2 separate regions of the Homo sapiens genome follow, and region 1 is linked to region 2. The links are contacts of gene promoters, found by promoter capture Hi-C in human tissues and cell types (Jung and others, 2019). All regions are on one chromosome and are shown on one strand. The core of a region is centred on a gene start or on the middle of the fragment in contact, and the rest is flanking DNA. Distances in the headings are between cores, read along the strand shown.

Region 1 (3,632 bases), core at 817-3,316, 330 kb before region 2:
CCTGTCACCAGAGGTCCCCTTCCTGCTTGGGCTCTGAGGTGGCTTAAGGAGAGTCCCTGCTTATGAAGATTTGATGGTAATTGAAGAAAAGAATTTTAAAAGCCTGTGCGTGTGGCTCACGCCTGTAATCCCAGCACTTTGGGAGGCTGAGGCGGGTGGATCACCTAAGGTCAGGAGTTCGAGACCAGCCTGGTGAAACCCCATCTCTACCAAAAATACAAAAATTAGCCGGGCGTGGTGGCAGGTGCCTGTAATCCCAGCTACTCAGGAGGCTGAGGCAGGAGAATCGCTGGAACCTGGGAGGCAGAGGTTGCAGTGAGCCAAGATTGTGCCATTGCACTCCAGCCTGGGCAACAAAAGCAAAACTCTATCTTGAAAAAAAATTTTTTTTTAAAAGGAGAGCCCCCTCCCTATGTTGTTTTCACAGAAAGCCCTGCCCCTGAGCAGCCTCTGCCCGAGGCCAGTGAGGTGGACAGCCTAGGGGTTATCCTCAAAGTGACTCACCCCCCCGTGGTGGGCAGCGATGGCTTCTGCATGTTCTTTGAGGACAGCATCATCTATACCACGGAGATGGACAACCTCAGGCACACAACACCCACAGCCAGTCCCCAGCCCCAAGGTGAGGCTCTGGAGCCAGGCCGAGCCCTGCGCCTCCTCGTGAGGATGCCTGAGCCCCCTCCCAGGGTACTTCAGGCAGAGACAGTGGCCCCTGGGGGCCCTACCCCTCTCCCCCTCCTCACACTGTCTCTAAGGCCCTAGCTATTGACAGATGTGGCCACATCCACTTTCCCTCCTCCACAGAAGTGACTTTCCTGAGTTTCTCTCTGTCCTGGGAAGAGATGTTTTATGCACAGAAATGTCACTGCTTCCTGGCTGACATCATCATGGATTCCATCAGGCAAAAGGACCCCAAAGCCATCACAGCCAAGGTGGTCTCCCTGGCCAATCGGCTGTGGGTATGTGTGACAGGCCTCAGGCCCTGGGGCACCCTGTACCTTCTCCACCTCTTCCCCTGCCCCACAATAAGTGGTGCAAGGCAAGAGGAAGTAAGCCAAGATGGGGTTAAGGAGAAGGCCAGGGCCAGAAGAGTGGTGGGACAGGGAGGCAAGCAGAGCAGTTGCACCTGGACTGAGCCTCGGCCAAGAGGCAGATTTGCAGTGACAGTGCCCGCCCCCTACCCCTGTGGCTCTGTGGGCCCAGAGAAGTCCCCGCTCTGCATCTCACTCTGAGGGGCTAGGAGCTGCCCTAGCACTGCCTGACTGTGGGCTCTCCTGGCAGACCCTGCACATCAGCCCCAAGCAGTTTGTGGTAGATTTGCTGGCCATCACCGGCTTCAAGGATGACCGGCACACCCAGGAGCGCCTGTACAGCTGGGTGGAGGTGAGGGCCACTTGCAATCCCTGGGAATCCACCGACCCTGTGGATGCCTCAGATGGACGTGTGTCTTGCTGCACCAGGGCTGGGCCAGCACTGCCCAGAAGGCTAGACAGGCAGCTTAGGCCACTGCTCCCAGGGAGGGAGAAACTGCATGAAATTAACCAATCCAGAGTAGTCCAAAAGCAGTATTCAGGCCACTGGTTTTTACAGTTTTCCTCCAATGATACCAGCTGTGCCTTCATCACTAACAACCCTGGCCACACTTAGGGACACATATCATATGAGCCCAAGCTTTGACTCATATGGGAGTGAGGCCTTTTCAACCAGTGATACCAGCTTCACCTATCTGGCCACGATGTCACCAATTGTGTACATTCCTTTCATTTCTAAACTACTTTTAAGCATTCTTAGGCCGGGCGCGGTGGCTCACGCCTGTAATCCCAGCACTTTGGGAGGCCGAGGCGGGTGGATCATGAGGTCAGGAGATCGAGACCATCCTGGCTAACACAGTGAAACCCCGTCTCTACTGAAAACACAAAAAAATTAGCCAGGCGTGGTGGTGGGCGCCTGTAGTCCCAGCTACTCAGGAGGCTGAGGCAGGAGAATGGCGTAAACCCGGGAGGCGGAGCTTGTAGTGAGCCGAGATCGTGCCACTGCACTCCAGCCTGGGTGACAGAGCGAGACTCCGTCTCAAAAAAAAAAAAAAAAAAAAAAAAAAAAGAAAATATTCAGTAAGGGCAAAGGAATGATCAAGGGTTTTTTTCTTTTTCCTTTTCTGATTCCTTAATCTAATTTTAACATTGAGGCCGAAACGATTTAGGCAGTTTCTCATTGATCTGACACTTCTATAATCAAGAGCATTATTATAACACCTTTCACCACAAGCCCTCTAGTACCCAGTTACCATTAGGCATCTGGCTCATATGTGGTTTGTAAAGGTGAAGTCAGCATGTATGGCTAAAAAGCAGAAAACCAGTAGCAGGAAACAGATTTTTGAACCTCCGGTCTTTCTGCTTTGTTCCCTGATAGCCATTTCTAGCCCCACCCTGTGAGATGCCCTGGGGCAGAGCTGGGCCCTAGAGCATCAAAAGTCCCCAACAGCCGGGCTTGCCCTGTCCCTGCCCCAATGGGAGAACCCCACCCACATGGAGCTAGAGTAGACAACTGGCCAGGAAATCAGGGATAAGACTGGCCTTTCCTTCCAGCTTACACTGCCCTTCGCCAGGAAATATGGCCGATGCATGGACCTGCTCATCCAGAGGGGCCTGTCTAGGTCTGTCTCTTACTCCATCCTGGGAAAGTACCTACAAGAGGACTAGGGTGCCCAGAGATGCAGCCCCTCATGCCCCACCCGCCAAGTCTCATTTTAATTGGAGATAGCCCAGAATGCATGTGCCCATCAGAGGGTACATATCAGTCTATTTTTTATTATAAACAAATAAAAGATTAAATCACACATCAAAGACCTAGACTCCTTCTCTGAGACACCAAAGGCCTAACAACCAGTAAGATAATTTTAGACAATTCTATTGAAAGTTATTCAAAAGGCATCAAGTCAAAATAACGAAACTGCCCCAGTAAAAAGGGGCTGGGCCTGGGGGCCAGGAAAGGCAAGCATGAGGGCCCAGTAGAGGTGGACCTGTCCCTATGGTAACTGAGCTCGGCTTTAAGGCCAGGCATTGGGGATCAGCTGCTAGGAGCCCACCTGTGTTCTTCCTGAGGGGTGGGGGCACCCTAGTCACTGCCTAGAGGCACATGGTCCCCCACCAGCCTACAGCATGGAAACACCCAATGTCTGCTCTAGCCTATTCTTAACCCACAACTGGGATGGGAGCTGGGGACAGGAGAAGGGGTCATGGGGCCAGGAGCCTATTCAGGCTCTACAACCAGACTTCCCTAGAGAGGCCCCGTGCCAGTTAGTCCAATGGCCACACACATCAGAAAGGGTAGTCAACAGCGTTGCACATGTAGGTTGGAGGTAGCCCAGGTGTCAGCCACACCCTGGTCACAGCAGATCCAGAGAGGCAATGTTCCTTGGAGCTGCAGGCTGCTGGATCTACTGCTCGTCCAGTCCCGGGCTCAGACCTGCAGGGCCAGGCCAGGCATGAATGCCTGCTTCCCTGACTCTGGACCCAGGAGGTGTCTGGGGAATGGCTCTGGCCCACCCACCCCAAGCTCTACCCAAAGTAAAGGCCTAGCCTGGGCTGGGGAGGGGCTGGTCACAGTCACAGGCTCAGCTTGGGCTGGGGAAGGGC
Region 2 (3,657 bases), core at 1,154-3,653:
GAGCTGGATCAGGTGGACAGGGCCCTCTGGGGTGCCTACCGGCCTACCGGACCCTGCGGGGACCTCAGCTGGGCTATAGACGTTGAGGACCAGGCAGTCCTCTGAAACGGAGAAGATCTGCTGTTTTCCGTTGAGGACAAATCTGCTGCTGTTCATGCTCTCCACGTCTTGTAGGCACCTGTGGCCAAGGGTGGGCCTGAGGTCCAGCTGTTCAGCCCCACAAGCCCCAGCAGCAGGATTCTCCTGCAACCTGCCTGTTTGCCCGCCTCCACCAGCACTACTCACATTGGGGGCGCAGTGCTGGCATCCCGCACACCCTCCCAGGGCTGTGCTGGGTGTGGGGCTGAGAACCGGTCAGGGCCCAGTGGCGGCTGGGCAAATGGAATGCCCAGAAAGACATTCACAAGGCGGTCTGTGCCCTTCACGCCCACCTGCCGGCCTCGCACACGACCCAGGGTGGTGTCTACTTCAGGCTGAGCAACTTCGGGCCCTGAGGGAAGGACAGAAAGGCCACGGGGTGAGTTTGCAGCCCCCATGAGGGGAAGGAGTGAAAGACAAACCCTCAGGCTGTTCTCAGTACTTACCACACAGCATCTTGGTAACCTTCCCAGCAAGCCGGTGAGCCTGGTCTTAGGTTGACGCCCAACTTCCTCCTCCCTGCCTGCCTGAGAGTCACTACCACTCCACTCCAGGCCAGACCGGGCCTGCCACTAGGGCCTTGTGCCTTGGGGCCAGCCACTTGCCCATTTCTTTGTTTTTATTTTTTGTGTTTGAGACAGGGTCTAGCTCTGTTGACCAAGCTGGAGTGCAGTGGCACGATCTTGGCTCACTGCAACCTCTGACTCCCGAGTTCAAGCGACTCCAGGGCCTCAGCCTCCCAAGTAGCTGGGATTACAGGTGTGCACCACAACGCCTGGCTAATTTTTGTATTTTTAGTAGAGACGGGGTTTCATCATGTTGGCCAGGCTGGTCTCGAACTCCTGACCTCAAGTAATCCATCCACCTGGGGCTCCCAAAGTGCTGGCATTACAGGCATGAGCCATCATGCCCAGCCCTGAATTATTTTTTAAAAAGTAGAGATGGGGTCTCATTATGTTGCCCAGGCTGGTCTCAAACCCCTGGGCTCAAGCAATCCTTTCACCTCAGCCTCCCCAAGTGCTGGGACGACAGGTGTGAGCCATCATGCCCAGCTGGCACCATGTTTCTTGTACGGCCTGCAGAACTGTGGCCTAACTAAACTTCTTTTCTTTGTGAATTACCCAGCTTCCTGTATTCTTTTACAACAACACAAACAGACTAAGACTGGAGGACTGCCTCTCCCAGGCTAGACAATTCCTAGAGATAGGAGGCAGCTCTCTGGGGAGGTGGAATTGGCAGGCATCTCTCTAGGGAGCAAAGGCAAACCAGTCCAGAGCCATACCCAACCACCTCCTTTATACAGCTCTCAGCTCCTGGCTGCCATCCACCAGCCATAATCACCACAGAGCCGGGTACCAGGAAGCTGGCTGGGGACAGCCCCTTTCCCCAGAGCCTGCTGCCAATCGTAAACCTCTTTAGCCTGCCTTGCCTATTCCTTCCCGTGGCAACCGTGTCAAAGGGGCTTGCCCACATTTTCCCCCTGCTCCCTCTGCCTCCTGGCTGATGCCACCTGGTGCTTCCCTCTGTGGCCCTATGTGGCATGGCCTGCTTCCTGTTCACAGGGAACTACGAGCAAACTCCTTCCCTCATGATAGTCATTTGCATATCTGCTTGTCTTACTATACTTCATTAAAACAAATCTCAGGCCCCCTTAAGACATAAAGACAGGCCAGGTGCGGTGGCTCACGCCTGTAATCCCAGCACTTTGGGAGGCCGAGGCAGGTGGGTCACCTGAGGTCAGGAGTTTGAGACCAGCCTGGCCCACATGGTGAAACCCCATCTCTCCTAAAAATACAAAAATTAGCCGGCCATGGTGGCAGGTGCCTGTAATCCCAGCTACTCAGGAGGCTGAGGCAGGAGAATCGCTTGAATCCAGGAGGCGGAGGTTGCAGTGAGCCGAGATCGCGCCATTGCACTCCAGCCTGGGTAACAAGAGCAAAACTCTGTCTCAAACAACAACAACAAAAACAACGAAACAAATACAGCAAGAGCAGAGCGCCTGCCCAGAGAGAATGCACAACCCCTGGTCTGCCTCCAAACAGGACTGTTTCCTGAGCGGTCGGCCCACTGCTCCCTGTCCCTGTCTCACTCTTGACTCCTCCACACCAAGTACCTCTGCAGGCCCAGCAGGTGTGTCTTACCAGTGGCTGTGGCAGGGCATGCCAGGAGCAGACAGACCACCCCGACCAGGACCCCGGACTCCACTCTCACTGCTCTCTCCATTCTCCTTACAACTGGTTCGACAGAAGCTTCAGAAGGTGGAATAAGATCCCTGCCCTTCAGCACCACCGATCTCTAAAGGGCTGTGATATAGAACCTCCAAGGACAGCGCCACCTAGCTGGTGGCCAGCCCCATGCTCAGGCTGAGCCAGAGGCAGGGCTAGATGAGTGCCCTGCAGAGGCCTGGTTGATATGACAGCCCTCCCCGTCCCACTGTTTTCAAATTCCAGCTCTCCTGACTTGGTGATCTCCATGAAATCCTGTGCGTTCATCCCAAGGTGACCACATCACTGACCCTAGGAAGTGGTGGCCAGTGACCCTGGGGTGCCACTCCGAGTGGGCAACCCAGCCTGAGGTGAGGGCTTGATATGGTTTGGATGTTTTGTCCCCTCCAAATCTCATGTTAAAATGTGAAAGAAAATAAAACAGTGATGATAATAGGACCCACCTCATAGCATTGAAGTGAGGGTACATGTTTGCATGTGTGTGTGAGTGTGTGTGTGAAAACATGAGGCTTGGGACTGGGTGTGGTGGCTCATACCTGTAATCCCAGTGCTTTAGGAGGATGGGGCAGGAAGATCGCTTGAGCCCAGGAGTTTGAGACCAGCCTGGGCAACACAGGGAGACACGTCTCTAGAAAAAATAAAAAAAATTAGCCAGGTGTGATGGTGCATGCCTGTGGTCCCAGCTACTTGGGAGGCTGAGGTGAGAGGATCACTTGAGCCCAGGTTGTCGAGACTGCAGTGAGCTGTGATAATGCCACTGCACTCTAGGCTAGGCTATAGAGCAAGACAAAGAAAGAGAGAAAGAGAGAGAGAGAAGAAAGAAAGGAGAGAGAGAAAGAAGGAGAGAGAGAAAGGAGAGAGAGAAAGAAAAAGAGACAGAAAAAGAGAAAGAAACAAAAAGAGAAAAAAGAAAAATAGAGAGAGAAAGAAAGAGAGAGAGGGAGGGAGGGAGGGAGGGGAGGGGAGAGGAGGGGAGGGGCTTGGAACCAGAACTCATGGAAGCCTGAGGAGAGGAGAGTCTGGGAACCAGAACTGATGGAAGCCTGCTCTTGACCGGGGCGGGGATCTGCAGGGCATCTGTCTCTCTGCTGGCTTAGGAGGCTCCCACCCCCAGGGAGGGCAGGACTCACTTCTGGGCCTCAGTGTCAGGAACATGGCTGGCTGGGAGTAGGCGGTGGGAGGATGGATAGATATTTGCTGGCCCAGTGAAAGACAGAGTGAGGGTTGTGCCTAAACACGATGCCAGATCCTCTTCCGGGGCTCCAGCTGGCACCCAGAGCTGAAGAGACAGGCT

Evidence for each region. The method cuts DNA at HindIII sites, captures the fragments that hold promoters and counts their contacts. A contact is called where the count stands out against the background at its distance.
Region 1: a fragment that was not itself captured here is called in contact with the fragment with the promoter of CES3 in region 2 in 1 of the 25 tissues and cell types used here (spleen).

Annotation. Positions count from the first base shown.
Region 1 is chr16:67,288,633-67,292,264 of GRCh38, reverse strand. It overlaps PLEKHG4 (pleckstrin homology and RhoGEF domain containing G4), which reads right to left. Exons shown (of 22, transcript NM_001129729.3): 22 at 2,785-3,462. The coding sequence ends at 3,457. It overlaps KCTD19 (potassium channel tetramerization domain containing 19), which reads left to right. Exons shown (of 16, transcript NM_001100915.3): 13 at 428-619; 14 at 802-956; 15 at 1,279-1,380; 16 at 2,583-2,833. The coding sequence ends at 2,696. Among named protein-coding and RNA genes, the nearest start is that of PLEKHG4, 11 kb to the right of the region's middle. The HindIII fragment of the contact is 4,855 bases long and covers 1-3,632 here.
Region 2 is chr16:66,960,012-66,963,668 of GRCh38, reverse strand. It overlaps CES3 (carboxylesterase 3), which reads right to left and starts at 2,403. Exons shown (of 13, transcript NM_024922.6): 1 at 2,280-2,403; 2 at 286-490; 3 at 40-178. The coding sequence starts at 2,361. RefSeq lists enhancers at 2,212-2,421, 2,206-2,707, 2,512-2,761. The HindIII fragment of the contact is 25,956 bases long and covers 1-3,657 here.